5 separate regions of the Homo sapiens genome follow, and all the other regions are linked to region 5. Evidence: promoter capture Hi-C in 16 types of primary human blood cells and fetal thymus (Javierre and others, 2016). All regions are on one chromosome and are shown on one strand. Each heading gives the region's core, a stretch centred on a gene start or on the middle of the fragment in contact. The rest is flanking DNA. Distances are from core to core; before and after follow the strand shown.

Region 1 (2,700 bases), core at 53-2,552, 440 kb after region 5:
GAGAAGGGCGGGGCACCTGGGGAGGAGGGCCCTGTGTGTGTGGTAGGGGAGGGAGTAGAGAGGCCAGACTATTATGGAAGCGCCCATTAGAGACCTGCACCAGACTCTGAGGTTGGGTTGGAGTTGTCAGCTGCCTATCCAGCGCCCATTAGGGTTCTCCTCTTTTCCTCCTCCAGCGTTCTCTCCCCGACTAGACCCACCCAACCACCTCGCCAATCCCTGTGCCCTCGCTGACTCACCTTCTCATTTTCTCTCAGGCCACTGGGGGCTGTCATCCTCACCTGTAGAAAGGTGGATGCTCAGGGAGAGGAAGGCTGTCACAGATGAGAGCTCCTCCTCGTGGATGGTGGCTATCAGAGCCCGAGAGACACCAGGCATCCTCGCCCAGAGGATTTGCTCCGCCCTGAAAGGGGTGTGGTGTCAAGCGGCGCAGGGTTCTCTTCCAAGGTGGGTGCCAACCAACCCAACGCGTATTGGACCTCAAGCATTCCAGGGATGTGGCTCCCTCTGTTTGCAGAAAGTCCAATGAACCAGCTTTGATAGCATGCATCCTTCGATAGCTCAGCTGGTAGAGCGGAGGACTGTAGATTGTATAGACATTTGCGGACATCCTTAGGTCGCTGGTTCGATTCCAGCTCGAAGGAAGTGCGTGATGCTTTTGGTTAAAAGCCCTGCAGCTTCCAAGTAGTAACCACACTCTCCCGGGCAAAACACCCACGAAGTCTTTCCTGATCACCTAGCTTCCCACGCCTTGCTTCTACTTTGTGACCCCACTAATCCCTCTATTCATGCTGACCACTACTTCCCCACCCTGTGCTCCTTCGCTTTTCTTCACAGACTGCTCTCGAGCTTGAGCATCTCCACTGGCTGTGACAAAACCGCTGTGCTCACCTTTGACAGAGCTCTCCTGACCAGGTGGGCAAAGCCTGGAAGGTCAAGTTCCCTGGAGAACGTCAAGCTTACTTGACAAGGGTGTAAAGTGGGGATAACCGTGGTATCTTCCGTGAAAACTCACCCTCTCACTCTCATCCATCTCAGGCTCTTTATCACTGCATTGAGATCTGACAGTCTCATGTTTGTCTCTGTCTCATTCTCTTTCTCTCTTTCACCGTTTCTCTGTCTCTGTATATTTCTCTTTGTCTCTGTGTCTCTGCCTCCCTATCTCTCTTCCCTGAGCCCTCAGCCTGCCCCTCTCATTCTCCTTGGCTGGAAATGTATAGACCTATACAGGCGTAAAGAAAATGTTCATTCCCACTTTGCTGTGTCTACTTTGGGGAGACAGCTGTCACCCTGAGAATTTCCTAATCCTAAGAACTTCCATTAGCAAGGTCAGGTTGCCCTTTAGGTTGAGGACAAGGTGAGTCTATCCCCTATCCCCATAGCTTTTCCCAAATCCCTCAAGCCTCACTTTTTCTGAGCCTTCACAACTTTTCATGCTGCTACAGCGGAGTTTGGCCCCTGCTAGAAAAGAAAGGACCTAATATTCAGTTCAAAGCCAGCAAAAACACCTGTGTTGAGTGCCCTGCTACTTGAGAGGGTAAGGGAGATGGAAGGGGAGTACAAAAGTGCAGGCTGGAAAAGAGCTTCAGTGATCCTGGAGAGTTAGAGGCTGTTGGGTCCATGGCAGGGAGCAGAAGTAAAGCTTGAGTGACAGCTGTCATTATACAGAGGCACACGAATTCGCTGCCTTAGGCCACTGCCTGGTGGGTCTGAGCAGTTTGGAGCTTTGGGACTAGAGGCACAGTTGGACTCTACCCTCACCCCAAAGGAAAAAGTGCTGAGGCCTAATCAGAGAGAATGAAGTAGGAAATGGACTTAGGTTTTCTCCAACGAACAGGGGTTACACCTCCAGGGAGATGGAGTGGGTTCTGTGGGTATGGGGCAGAGAAGAAAGCCAACAAGCGTTCCTTGGTCTCATCTCACCATCTCAGAAAAAATCTCCAGAGATTTGATGCGCACATGCAACCTATCACAGAGAGCACTCCAAGCCAAATGGCCCATGGGAACGTGGCCCTCTGAAACCCTCTGGGGACTGGGACACCTGCCTCCACTACCTGCTGTGGCCACAAGAGCTGTTTCATTGCAGGTCTCAAACTGAAGACTACACAGGTCTTTCTTGGGAAGCAGCTCCTGATCTCCCTCCACCTCCCTATTTCCCCCAATGTTCCCCTGGCTTTGTCAGCCTTTCCTGCTTCTCATTGCTAACAGAAGGAGGCCAAGCTGTGGCATCGCCAGTGCCCAGGATGATTCTATGGCTTTGGAGCCACAGAGAGATCCCTGCCTCCAATGACACCAAAGGCAGAGGCTAGCGAACACAGACGAAATGTAGTACCTTTGTCCCTTATTGGATAAGTTCATGATGGGATATAGAGACCCCCAGGTTCTTCGGAACCTCTGTTTAGTGTTTTGGTGGGAAAATCAGAGGTGAGCCAGTGAATGGGCTTTGGTGGCCAGCACAAGCAAGGTTGAAACCTGGGTACCAACTCTTCCTGTTTGAGCCATGACAGAGTAGCTGGGTTCTGTGAGCATCTGACCCTTGCCCTCAGAGATCCAGACCCACTTGCCATAAGACAGGGAGTGGACTTAAACTCAATGGTGGCCAGGTTCCTTGGATGTGGCTTGCTGCACCTCCAGTAGGTGTTCAGCTGGGGGGTGGGTGTCCCAGTGGTCTTGGGGTAGTGGTGTTGCGGGAAGTCAGGG
Region 2 (2,700 bases), core at 199-2,698, 460 kb before region 5:
AGGTAATTAGAGGCTGCAGTAACCCATCCATGATAACACGGCTGCACTCTAGCCTGGGTGACAGAGTGAGACTATCTGAACAGAAGACGAAAAAAAAAAGAAAAAGAAAAGAGACAAGACAAGACAAGACAAGATAGTGGAGCAAAGCTTCTGCTTTTCCTTTGTAAGCCAGCAAATGCTACCCTATGGAAGGGAAAGGACGGGAAGAGAAAAGTACTGTCCAACTCCACTGAATCTGTAGCAACAGCATGACGTTCAGATAAAAAATATCTAATATGGCTGGGCACAGTGACTCACACCTGTAATCCCAGCACTTTGGGAGGCCGAGGCGGGTGGATCATCTGAGGTCAGGAGTTCGAGACCAGCCTGCTCAACATGGTGAAACCCCATCTCTACTAAAAATCCAAAAGTTAGCTGGGCATGGTGGCGTGTGCGTGTATTAGTCCCAGTTACTCGGGAGGCTTAGGCAAGAGAATCGCTTGAACCCGGGAGGTGGGGGTTGCAGTGAGCTGAGATTGCATCACTGCACTCCAGCCTGGGCGACAGAGTGAGATTCCGTCTCAAACAGACAAACAAAAAAAAAATCTGGTATGGAGTTGGGAGAGATAAGACTAAACCTCATGTTCCCATATTTGAATTGGATGCAAAAAAAAAAAAAAAAAAATTCGGCCGGGCGTGGTGGCTCGCGCCTGTAATCCCAGCACTTTGGGAGGCTGAGGCACCTGAGGTCAGTAATTCAAGACCAGCCTGGCCAACATGGTGAAACCCTGTCTCTACAAAAATTAGCCGGGCATAATGCAGGTGCCTGTAATCCCCAACTACGCGGGAGGCTGAGACATGAGAATCGCTTGAACCCAGGAAGCGGAGGTTGTAGTGAGCCGAGATTGCGCCACTGCGTTCCAGCCTGGGCGACAGGGTGAGACTCCGTCGCAAAAATAAATACATAAATAAATAAAATTTTTAAAAAATAAAAATAAAAATTCACCAACATAAAGATGATATTTAAATCTGTATATGTGAGAAGGAACAAGTACTAACTGCATCACAATTAAACAGTTTCCTAGGAGTGGCTTCTGAATGTTACTTCTTTGTATCTTATTTTTGTATCTGAATGTTACTTCTTTGTATACTTACTGGCCTGTATCGCAGGCTTTCACTTGTTAATTGAGTTCTCTCTTCTTAAGTATTTTGGCATTTCTACCACCAGGTGGCGATGTCCCACTGTCTTTCATTTACTCATTGTCGAACGAGAGATTCTTAAAGAATTTGGGGGTGGGGGGAGGGGTCAGGTTATGTCCTTCTACTAGTTATACAAATAAGCGCTTGCTTTCATGCTGAAAAGCGAAAAGAATTTGGAGGGGGAGGGTAAGAGGTCAGGCAGTGGCTGCCTCTTCCTCCCTATTTGTTTTCTTAGTCGTTTGGTTTCCATGGGAATCCATGTTTGAGCAGCAACTCTGAATCCATTTACTGCCCCTCCAGGCTTGGGGCTGAGCCCAGAGACAAGCTGTGAAGAACAGCAGATGGGTAGAAAGGCGGGGAAGATTTATTTGGTAAATTTGGATAGCAAAAGAGGCCAACAGGTGCCGGGGGAGCAGTGGTGAGGTGGAGTGCACGAAGGAATGTGAAAGGCAGACAATGTTTTTTAGTTCAAATAAAATTGGGGAACATTAAAATAGTTTCCAAAACTCTTCAGTCAGGGATACTCTGTTCTCTCCCCATAGATCATCTTAGGACACACTCTGGGCCTTGTATATTACCAGGTCCTCTCTATCTCTTATCCAAAAAAAAATCAACAGGCTAGGCACCATGGCTCACACCTGTAATCCCGACATTTTGGGAGGATGAGGCAGGAGGATCACTTGAGCCTAGGAGTTTGAGACCAACCTGGGCAATAGAGGGAGATCCCATCTCCACAAAAAAAAAAAAATTGTTTTAATTAGCTGGGCATGGTGGCTCACACCTATAGTCCCAGCTACTCTGAAGGCTGCAGTGGGAGGATCGCCTTAGCCCAGGAGTTCAAGGCCACAGTGAGCCGTTATCTTTTTGCCAGCCTGGGCAACAGAGCAAGACCCTGTCTCAACAAAACAAAACAAAACAAAACAAAAACGTCAGCAGACAAGTGTCAGAACCTGTCCAAGGTTAAAGCCCTTTGGAGTAAGAGAACTCCAAGGAAAAAACCTCCACTGCATTCCCCAGGCAAAGCATAATTCCGCATACAGCAAGCTCTCAGTAAAATATTGGTTGAATGAATGAATGAATGAATGAATGAATGAGCAATAAGAATCAGATGGCCTTGACTAGCCTTACTTAGTTCCAGCTTGAGATAACAAACTCAGCACAAAGAAAAATCATCTATTCTGTCATCAAAATCATGAGGATGTGAATGTTTTCATTCACAGATTAAGTCATTCAAAGAATGATGAGGGTGTTTTGTTGTTGTTGTTCTGCTTAAATCAGATGTTTTTCATACTTGCATTACTAATACCCCAGTTTCTAAGAGTATTTGCATTTCAGTTTGTTTGTGACAATATTCGGGTATCCATTCACAGATAGCAGTTGATCTGCATATGAACAGCTTTCTACCTTGAGATGGAATCAAGTCTTCCCTCTAATTCCTTAACCACCAGCCCCACTCTTTCTCTTCACTTTCTGACCCACTACCCTGTTTAATTATCATTCATTCTGTAGTTATTTATTTGC
Region 3 (2,700 bases), core at 30-2,529, 340 kb before region 5:
TTCTGGTCATTAGTTTGTAATTATGGAAAGTGACTAAGTACAACCACTAAGTTTTGTCTTTCCTTTTGAGCACATACATGTGTTTCTCTTTTGGGGACTGGTGGGCCAACACTGGCTTTTCATTCTTAATATGATAAAAGTTGGTGTGACTTCTTTATCTAGGCAGTTACTTTGCATTGAAACCAACTTAACATCTGTTCATTTTTGCTATTAGGGTTTGAATCAAGGAAAGAGAATTCATGAGATGGTTGAGAGGATTCATGAGATAGATGAGCTTGGTAGAATAAATAGGCCGTATGTGGATATAGCCAGGGTGACCCACAAGTAGTAGTAGAAGGAGGGTTAAAAAAAGTTAGATGTATGTTGGGAGAAGGTTTAATCTTGTAAGAGTCAAGGACAGTTTAAAGATAGGAACTAGAAAAGAAGTAGGAAACTAGCATAAAAATATGAGATGAATTGGGTCAGTATAGGTGAGAATGATGGGACTGAGAAGTAATGATACTTGGTGGCAAGGTTTTTGAATTATTAGGCATAGACCGAACTAGAAGAAGCAGAAATTTGGTTCGAAAATTGGGAAGGGAGAGATAAATGACAATGCATTGATCTTTAAAAAGCTTATACTAAGTCATATGGGGGTAAGGAGATTCATCAGAAACCATCAGCCTTGTTTCTCCTATTTAAAAAAAAAAAAATCTGGGCCTAAGATTGGATCATTATGGGGGAAAGGAAGAGCATTAGAATTAACAAATAGCAAGGAATCATGGAAGCGACAAAATACTCCATGGAATAAGGAGCAGGCTATAAACTATTTGCAACGTAAACTTCTGGTTAGTAGAAACTTTCAGCGTGGTGGCTCATGCCTATAATCCCAGCACTTTGGGAGGCTGAGGCGACGGCTCACCTCTGAAGTCGAGAGTCCGAGACCAGTCTGACTAACGTGGCGAAAACCTGTCTCTACTAAAAATACAAAATTAGCCGAGTGTGGTGGCGCAGGCCTGTAATCCCAGCTATTCGGGAGGCTGAGGCAGGAGAATCGCTTGAACCCAGGAGGTAGAGGTTGCGGTGAGCCGAGATCGCGCCATTGCACTCCAGCCTGGGCGACAAGAGTGAAACTCTGTCTCAGAAAAAAAAAAAAAAAAAAAAAGAAACTTTCACTGTTGTTTTTATATTACTCCTAGCTGTAGATACTTTAACTTCTGACGGTGAGTAGAGAATGAAAAATAATTGGTGCCAAAGTAGGTATACTGGAAAAAAGCTGATGATAATGGGAAGGAAATTTATTAATATCAAGTTATTGAGTAGGTTTTCGTTAAATCAGGAAGCATTCATAACTTTCCTGATTGCCATTTTGAGTAATTTGGAGGCAAATATTAGATATGAGAGGCTGGAATGAGCTGGTGGAATAGGCTAGCCAGGAATGGGAGATGGTATGGATCTTGGGTTGAGATATGAAAAGTATGCAATTACTGAAGCAAGGACGATCTTGTTTAACATTGTTGGAGATACCATGTATACTTTGTAATTTTGACTCACGTGTTTGTTCTCTTTGTCTGTTTTGGAGTATCTGATATATTAACCCATATTATATTGTTTTATAAGGATAAGTGAGATGGGTTGGGAAGGAAAAAACATAGCATGGGGGTTATATGGAAAAGTCTCCTTCAGTCAGGACTGTGCCTCTGACAAATTTCTTATCTGGTGTCTTCCAAAAGTTAGGAGAAATGGTCTTACCAAGCAAGACTTTCCTGTATTGTCAAATACTGTCATCATATACAAAGAACAGATATTTCTTTTTCATATATTTGGGTTTTATGGTGATATACTTCCCTGTCTTTGATAGCTTTTCTTTTTTCCACTAGTTTCATGAACTTAAAACCCTAGACATGGATTTTGTGAACCTACTTTCAGCCATTCATAAGACATGTTTTCAAGATAGGAAGCTTTTTACCATCTCATGTTAGAATCAAAGGATACCATTTAGTTTCTGTGAGGATCGAATGGTTTACTCCAGATAATGCGAGCAAGTATAATTCATTAACTGTTTTTTGATTAGCTACTATATGTGCTATGTCCTGCTGGTTCTTAGGGGATCCACAGATAAATAAAACATAGTCCCCACCATCCAAGAACTTTCTCCCAGAGAAAGAGGAGCTGGGCCATGGTACAGAGTTGTGGAGGGTGTACATTGCATACATTCATAACAAATTTTTATATATTTAGTATGGCAGTTTTCCAGGCATCTTGAGAAGTGGGCAACTTTTTACAATTTGCGCAAAGGAACCATTTGGGCCTTCAGAGGATATATTACAGACTTAGGTCATTATAATAAAATATTAAATATAAGTGTTTTAAGGTATAAACAATGGTGTGGGTATTTAAAGGAGGTGGAGGGATCAAGTCATCACAAGTTGCTCAGTTGTTAAAGCGTCAGAGGTTCAGGGCTCACTTAATGGAGTAGAAGACCTTTGAGGGTTGGTAGGATTTTAGCTGCGAGAGATTATTGGCATTGGGATGGAGAGGACGTGTTCCAGGCAGAAAGCACAGCATCATAAGCAAAGTCACACAGGTAGGAATCACATTAAGGGAATTGTGTAGTCTAGTTGGACTGGAATGTAAAATATATGTAAGAGATGGTAAGAGGAAGTTGGGAATATAAATTGGAAACAATGTTGAATCCCTTGCAATTGACCTTTTTTATCT
Region 4 (2,700 bases), core at 91-2,590, 400 kb after region 5:
CATTTGGAACCATTGTTGGGTTTGTATTAGGGCCAAACGGTATTGCAGAAGAAAATAAGGCATTTAGGTTTTAGGTCAGGTGTGAGTTGAAGAGGTTTTAAGTTCTTGAGAACACAGGCTAAGGGAGAAGAAGGGGGAATGCAGGGTGGAAGGTTGCCCACAGTGAAGAAGTAAGTTTAAAGAGAAAGGTAGAGACACAGCAAAGGGGGTGGTGAGCAGCCCTGGGCTATAACGTGGACGATCAGCCAAAGCAGGCATCCCGCGATTGACTTGCCATCAAGGGAATGTGGGTGAATGACCATGGCAGGTGTCCCCACAGTGATCAGACACCAATGGAATGTGGGTGAATGATCAGGGCAGGCATCCCCACAATGATCAGACGCCAAGGGAAGACTATCTTCCCGAGTCCGTGACTGGTGTCTGAGTTTTGGGTCCATGGATAAAATGCGTCTCCTTTGTCTCTACTAGAGAGGAAAGAGAACTGGAATTGGAAGGACAGGGAGATTGAAGGGTAGCAAGAGAGGCTGGAGAAGACAGTGAAAAGACCGCTTACCCAATTTGAAATGGGTGAGATGTTCCTTGGGCTGGTTGGTCTGAGGACCTGAGGTCATAGGTGGACCTCCTCATGGAGTGAAGGCGAGGACAGGGGACCAGTCTCCTGAAGGAGTCCCCCTGTTCTGGGTCTTCGGCACTAAATGCCACACGCGTCCATGTGAAGAGACCACCAAACAGGCTTTGTGTGAGCAATAAAGCTTTTTAATCACCTGGGTGCAGGCAGACTGAGTCCAAAAAAGGAGTCAGCAAAGGGAGATGGGGTGGGGCAGTTTTATAGGATTTGGGTTGGTAGTGGGAAATTACGGTCAAAGTGGGTTATTCTCTAGCGGGCAGGGGCGGGGGTCACAAGGTGCTCTGGTGGGGAGCTCCTGAGTCTAATTGTCCAGGAGAAGGAATGTCACAAGGCTAATTGATCAGTTAAGGTGGGGCAGGAACAAATCACAGTGGTGGAATGTCATCAGTTAAGGCAGGAATTGGTTATTTTCACTTCTTTTGTGGTTCTTCAGTTGCTTCAGGCCATCTGGATGTATACGTGCAGGCTTGGGCTCAGAGACCTGACAGCTCCCTAATTTGCTTCTAAATATTCTAAGGGAGAAGGAAGAGCTGTGAGAATTGTCTTTGAGAGGAATCATTCTCTCTGGAGTAAATGAGACAAATCTTCTGTGTTGTGGTCATGGATCTGATAGGCATTAGTCTTTGACCAGAGTTTATGAGGTTATTAAGGTGCATGCATGTTTATAAACTAAACAAGAATTTAAAAGTCAGAGAAAAAAAATAATACCATAGCACAGTCTTCTCAGGTACCTTCGGTTTAGGTCCTTTATTACAAGGAAAACATAAAAAATCTTTCAATCAGTAAGAGCACATAAGTCTTAATGATCTAGTACATTTTTTAGTACTTTGACTTACTAGGGTGATTCAAAGTTTCAGGAAAAAGAAAATTCCCAGTATCATTTTCTTAATCTTATTAAACCCAAACATAAGAATGCCAAAAAATACAGAGCTCACATTTTGCTGGCATACATTTCCAAATTTTTAATGCCTCCCTGACAGGTGAATTTTAAGGATAAAAAAAGCAGACACTTTCAAAACATTCCTTGTGATGAAGTAGAAAAAGCCCTGGATAAGTGGCCAGCTACACTGGATTTTTGTCTCAATTCTTCCATTAACTTTACAGTCTTCAGCAAATCCCTTAACTTTGAGCTTCTATATGTAGTGACATCATTATAAGTGCTGTGGTATTAAAATGTGATAAACATAGATGAAAGCATTTTGAAATGTTTGAAATACTACATAAATACACATAATAACTAAATTCCACAGGATAGGATCTGAGAGAGCTAAGCTGACCAGTATTATAAAAGGAAGCTTATTACAGAAAAGCCCAGCCTCATTCATTACAGGTTTATGTCTCCATATCTCTTTGGTGCAATGTATTTAATAGAATGAGTTATATAGAGAAAAAGAGTAGGAAATGAGCTGAGGAGACAGAGCCTGGGACAGCTCAAATGCATTACTCACTGCTATTTAAGGAGTAAGTGTAAGGTCAACCACTCGCGATAATCCCTACATGGTGGCATCTAACCGTCAAAGTGCACAGGCACCTGTGGGTTACCCTCACAGGCAATGACAACACGTCTAGTGCTCGCTATGGCCCGATATCTGCAGTTGGGTGCCCTGGAACTTCCTGTGTCCCTGCAATCTGTGACCTTCACTACACCCTCATGGCAGTTCATCTTGCCGTTCTTGCATTGGATATTGGTGGTGCTGCAGATACTACGAATGTTCCAGATATCTTCATGGATGAAGGTGTTGAAGCGCTTGCAGTGATACAAAGTCATCTTCCGTCTTTGCATCATCAAGTTGCAGTAGCGATCACTGCCACCTGTCTCCTCAGGGTGCACGTGTTGCCGCAGGAATCGCTGGTACATGCCATCCTGGCCATAGGAGGGCTGGACCAGCCCCAGCCCCAGCAGGGTCAGCAGCAAAAGCAGAAGCAATGAATGGGTCCTCTGCAGAGCCATCAGTATCTTAGAGGTGCCTAGAAAAGAAAGCAAGGGGCAGGAGAAATAAGGTAAGAACTGGGCACTGGAAAAAGGTGTTGAGAATAGCAAGCCGGCATCCTGACTCCATAGTCTCCTCTTT
Region 5 (2,700 bases), core at 85-2,584:
GTGGGTGTTTAATAACTATTAGTGGTGCTGATGAGGTCACACCGATAAGTCTGATGCCCATACACTAAAAGTGTTATTCAGAAGGAAGCTGGGGACACATTTCTACAGTCGGAAGCAGAACCAGCTGGGCCCAAATATACTCTATAGATCAAAACAAATCCCAGATCTACCTAGGTGCCCTTGGCAAGTTGCTTAATCTCTCTGTTCCCTTATCTATAAAAGGAAGTTAATAATACCAGTCTCAAGGGGTTGCTTTCAGCATGGAAGAGAGCTTAGCCCAGTACCTGGTACACAAGTGCTCAATGTTAGTGGCTATGATCATCATCACTATTATTATTTCTTGTTGTTGACGATAAGAGGAGACTGCGCCAGAAGACTCTAGAAGTTAGTACGAGGAGGGAGGCAGGGTCCTGGGAGGCAAGTGATCTTTTGTAAGCCACTCCTGCCCCATCAGTGCTGTGCCAACATCGGCGGGTCATTGTATCTACTCTTTTCTTTCCCGGGGAGTGGGAGTCACGTTTTAAAGAGATCCAGAAAACTGCTGTGTGTCTACTCCTCCTCAATTCCCACGTGCATTGATTTTATTTGGTGGCGATGTGAGATGTTGGGCTTGCACTGAGGATCCCCGAGCCTGCAGGCCACTGGGGAAACAGACTTCCTGAAGCCTCATTTTTCTTACTTGTAAATGGGGGCTAATTTAATTATAGAGGGTTATTGGAAAGATTATATACTATTAGATAGGTGAACAGGCATTCAGTAAATATTGACTAAATCTGAGTATACTACTTACCAGTTTGTAGTCTAGACTACAATCGCCTGGAAGGAAGGTACCACTTCTTTCTCATCCCTCACAGCGCTGAGCCCAGTGCCTGGCACTTAGTAAGCACTCAGTAAATATTTGTTGTATTGAAGAGCCATTAAAGTGACTTGAGGAATGGAAAATAGAATTCGAGAGGAAGGCGCAGGAATTGTTTATCAAGAACGGAAAGGACCGAAGAGTAACTTTAATAATGTTTCTTATACGGCCGACATTAACTATCTCTATAATCGCCCCTCCTCCTCCCCCAAAAGAGAGACAGAAATTGTAAGGGAGAGGCTTTGAGATAAAACCCCAGGAAGAACTTCCCGAGTCTGTGCATGTTGGGGCAGAAAGAGCGGCAGAGCCAACTCCTTCCCTGGTATGTCCGGGTTTAGGGAGGGAGGGGCAGTGCTGCTTGGAGGCTGGGGGAAGGACGAGATGACCTTTCAAAATCTCTTCCAGTCTCCTGTTGGAATCCTCTGTGCGCCCCACCCCCGCTCCCTCCCTTCCTCCCTCCCTCCGACAGCGCCCCCCGTCTCCAAACCGCCCGCACCCCGCCCCTGGCGGCCGCCTCTCGCGGCTCCCGGGGTCCCCAGCTCCCTGTCCCCGGAGCCAGAGCCCGGCTCCCGCGCGGCTCCCAGCCCCGCCGCGCCGCCCCCCGCATGCTAATGGCCGGGCCGCCTCCCGCCGCACACAATGCGGGCCAGGGCCGGGGGCGGGGGACCGGGGAGGGGGCGGGGGCCGGGCCGGGGGCGGGGGGGCCGGGGCCCGGCGCATCTCCCCCGGCCCCACGTAACGCTGACGCCCGCGCCGCCGGCCCGCCGCCCGCCGCCGCCGCCGCCGCCGCCGCCCGCTCCGCCGCCGCCCGCCCGGGGCTCGTGAGTAGCCGCTCCCCCGACTCCCGGGCCCCCCCGTCCGCCACCCGGCCCCCGCCCCCGGCCCCCTCCCCCCTCCCGGAGGGGGGGCCCGCTCAGCGCGCCCGGCTCGGAGCAGGTGCAGGGGGCGGGGGCGGGGGAGGGGCGCCGGCTCGGCCCCAAGCAAACTTCGCCCAGAGCTCCTGGGGGGGCGGGGTGGGGGTGGCGGCCTCGGAAGCCTGGAGAGCTGGGGGGCCCCAAGGGAGGGGGGGCCAGGTGGAAGAGCTGGGGGAGCAGACACCAAAGGGAAGGGCCAACGGGGGGGATGTGGCGGGGGAGGTGGCGGGTGTCTTTGTAGGGGCCCGAAGGCAGGGCGCGAGGGACCTGGGGGTGAGGGGCGGCAGAGCCGCGAGCCTGAGTGGATGTGCACCCCCCAACCCCCGGCCCAGGTAGGGCTGGTGGGGGAGGGGGAAGGAGCCCAAACTCTCTGGAAGCACGGGGTGGCGGGGGAGGGGAAAGGATGGGGGGTGCTTCCCTCTTTGCGTCCCAAACAAAGTGTCACAAAGAGCTCGGCCCGCGGCAGCAGCGGAGGCGGCTGTAACTCAGCTTTTGTTCTCCTGGCCGGGGGTAGCTGAGCCTTGGCCTCCCTATCTCCCAACCCTGCCCCCCATCATCCTTCTGGCTTATCTTCCTGGGGAGGGGTCTGGGGTGCTGCTGGAAAAACCTCTCCGGCAGGATAGCAGGTCCTACCCTACTTAGCAATCTATTTCTGGGAGGGGGATTTTCCCAGAGGCTCCCTTGATCGCCCCTACCTCCCAGTCTGAGGACCGAGGCTCACGTGGGTGCTAAGACTGACTTTTCTAGGGTCAGCTCCACTTAAAGGGACTTAGGGCTGGCTACATGCCCCTCTTTCCCAAACCCAGGTCTTCCAGAACTTTCAAAATCAAAATCGGGGTTGCGTTAGGACATGCCTCTGGGATAAGATTCCCCATGGTGGGATGGCAGCAGGTGAGCAGGTGTGCCTTCCTCTCGCCTCCTGCTGTACCT

What was found. The method cuts DNA at HindIII sites, captures the fragments that hold promoters and counts their contacts. A CHiCAGO score of 5 or more calls a contact.
Region 1: a fragment that was not itself captured here is called in contact with the fragment with the promoter of ZNF219 in region 5 in 1 of 17 cell types (naive B cells); the score reaches 5.3 in naive B cells.
Region 2: a fragment that was not itself captured here is called in contact with the fragment with the promoter of ZNF219 in region 5 in 1 of 17 cell types (naive CD8 T cells); the score reaches 5.2 in naive CD8 T cells.
Region 3: a contact is called between a fragment that was not itself captured here and the fragment with the promoter of ZNF219 in region 5, in 1 of 17 cell types (fetal thymus). The highest score is 5.7, in fetal thymus.
Region 4: a fragment that was not itself captured here is called in contact with the fragment with the promoter of ZNF219 in region 5 in 8 of 17 cell types (naive B cells, total B cells, fetal thymus and 5 more); the score reaches 7.2 in naive B cells.

Annotation. Positions count from the first base shown.
Region 1 is chr14:20,655,408-20,658,107 of GRCh38, reverse strand. TRY-GTA4-1 (tRNA-Tyr (anticodon GTA) 4-1) reads left to right here and starts at 551; the gene lies at 551-644. LOC124903281 (a long non-coding RNA gene) reads right to left here. Exons shown (of 2, transcript XR_007064059.1): 2 at 1-403. The HindIII fragment of the contact is 684 bases long and covers 961-1,644 here.
Region 2 is chr14:21,556,295-21,558,994 of GRCh38, reverse strand. No RefSeq gene overlaps it. Among named protein-coding and RNA genes, the nearest start is that of OR10G3, 22 kb to the left of the region's middle. RefSeq lists a silencer at 151-337 and enhancers at 356-899, 900-1,443. The HindIII fragment of the contact is 2,598 bases long and covers 150-2,700 here.
Region 3 is chr14:21,432,484-21,435,183 of GRCh38, reverse strand. The region is part of intron 1 of CHD8 (chromodomain helicase DNA binding protein 8); the gene reads left to right. Among named protein-coding and RNA genes, the nearest start is that of CHD8, 22 kb to the left of the region's middle. The HindIII fragment of the contact is 1,326 bases long and covers 617-1,942 here.
Region 4 is chr14:20,699,251-20,701,950 of GRCh38, reverse strand. RNASE4 (ribonuclease A family member 4) reads right to left here. Exons shown (of 2, transcript NM_002937.5): 2 at 735-2,596. The coding sequence starts at 2,579. The coding sequence ends at 2,136. EGILA (EGFR interacting lncRNA) reads left to right here. Exons shown (of 4, transcript NR_174964.1): 2 at 2,453-2,629. Among named protein-coding and RNA genes, the nearest start is that of EGILA, 6.3 kb to the left of the region's middle. RefSeq lists a silencer at 2,135-2,300. The HindIII fragment of the contact is 1,171 bases long and covers 755-1,925 here.
Region 5 is chr14:21,097,289-21,099,988 of GRCh38, reverse strand. It overlaps ZNF219 (zinc finger protein 219), which reads left to right and starts at 1,334. Exons shown (of 5, transcript NM_016423.3): 1 at 1,334-1,677. It also overlaps a transcript of TMEM253 not described here. RefSeq lists enhancers at 1,152-1,652, 2,412-2,700. The HindIII fragment of the contact is 7,101 bases long and covers 1-2,700 here.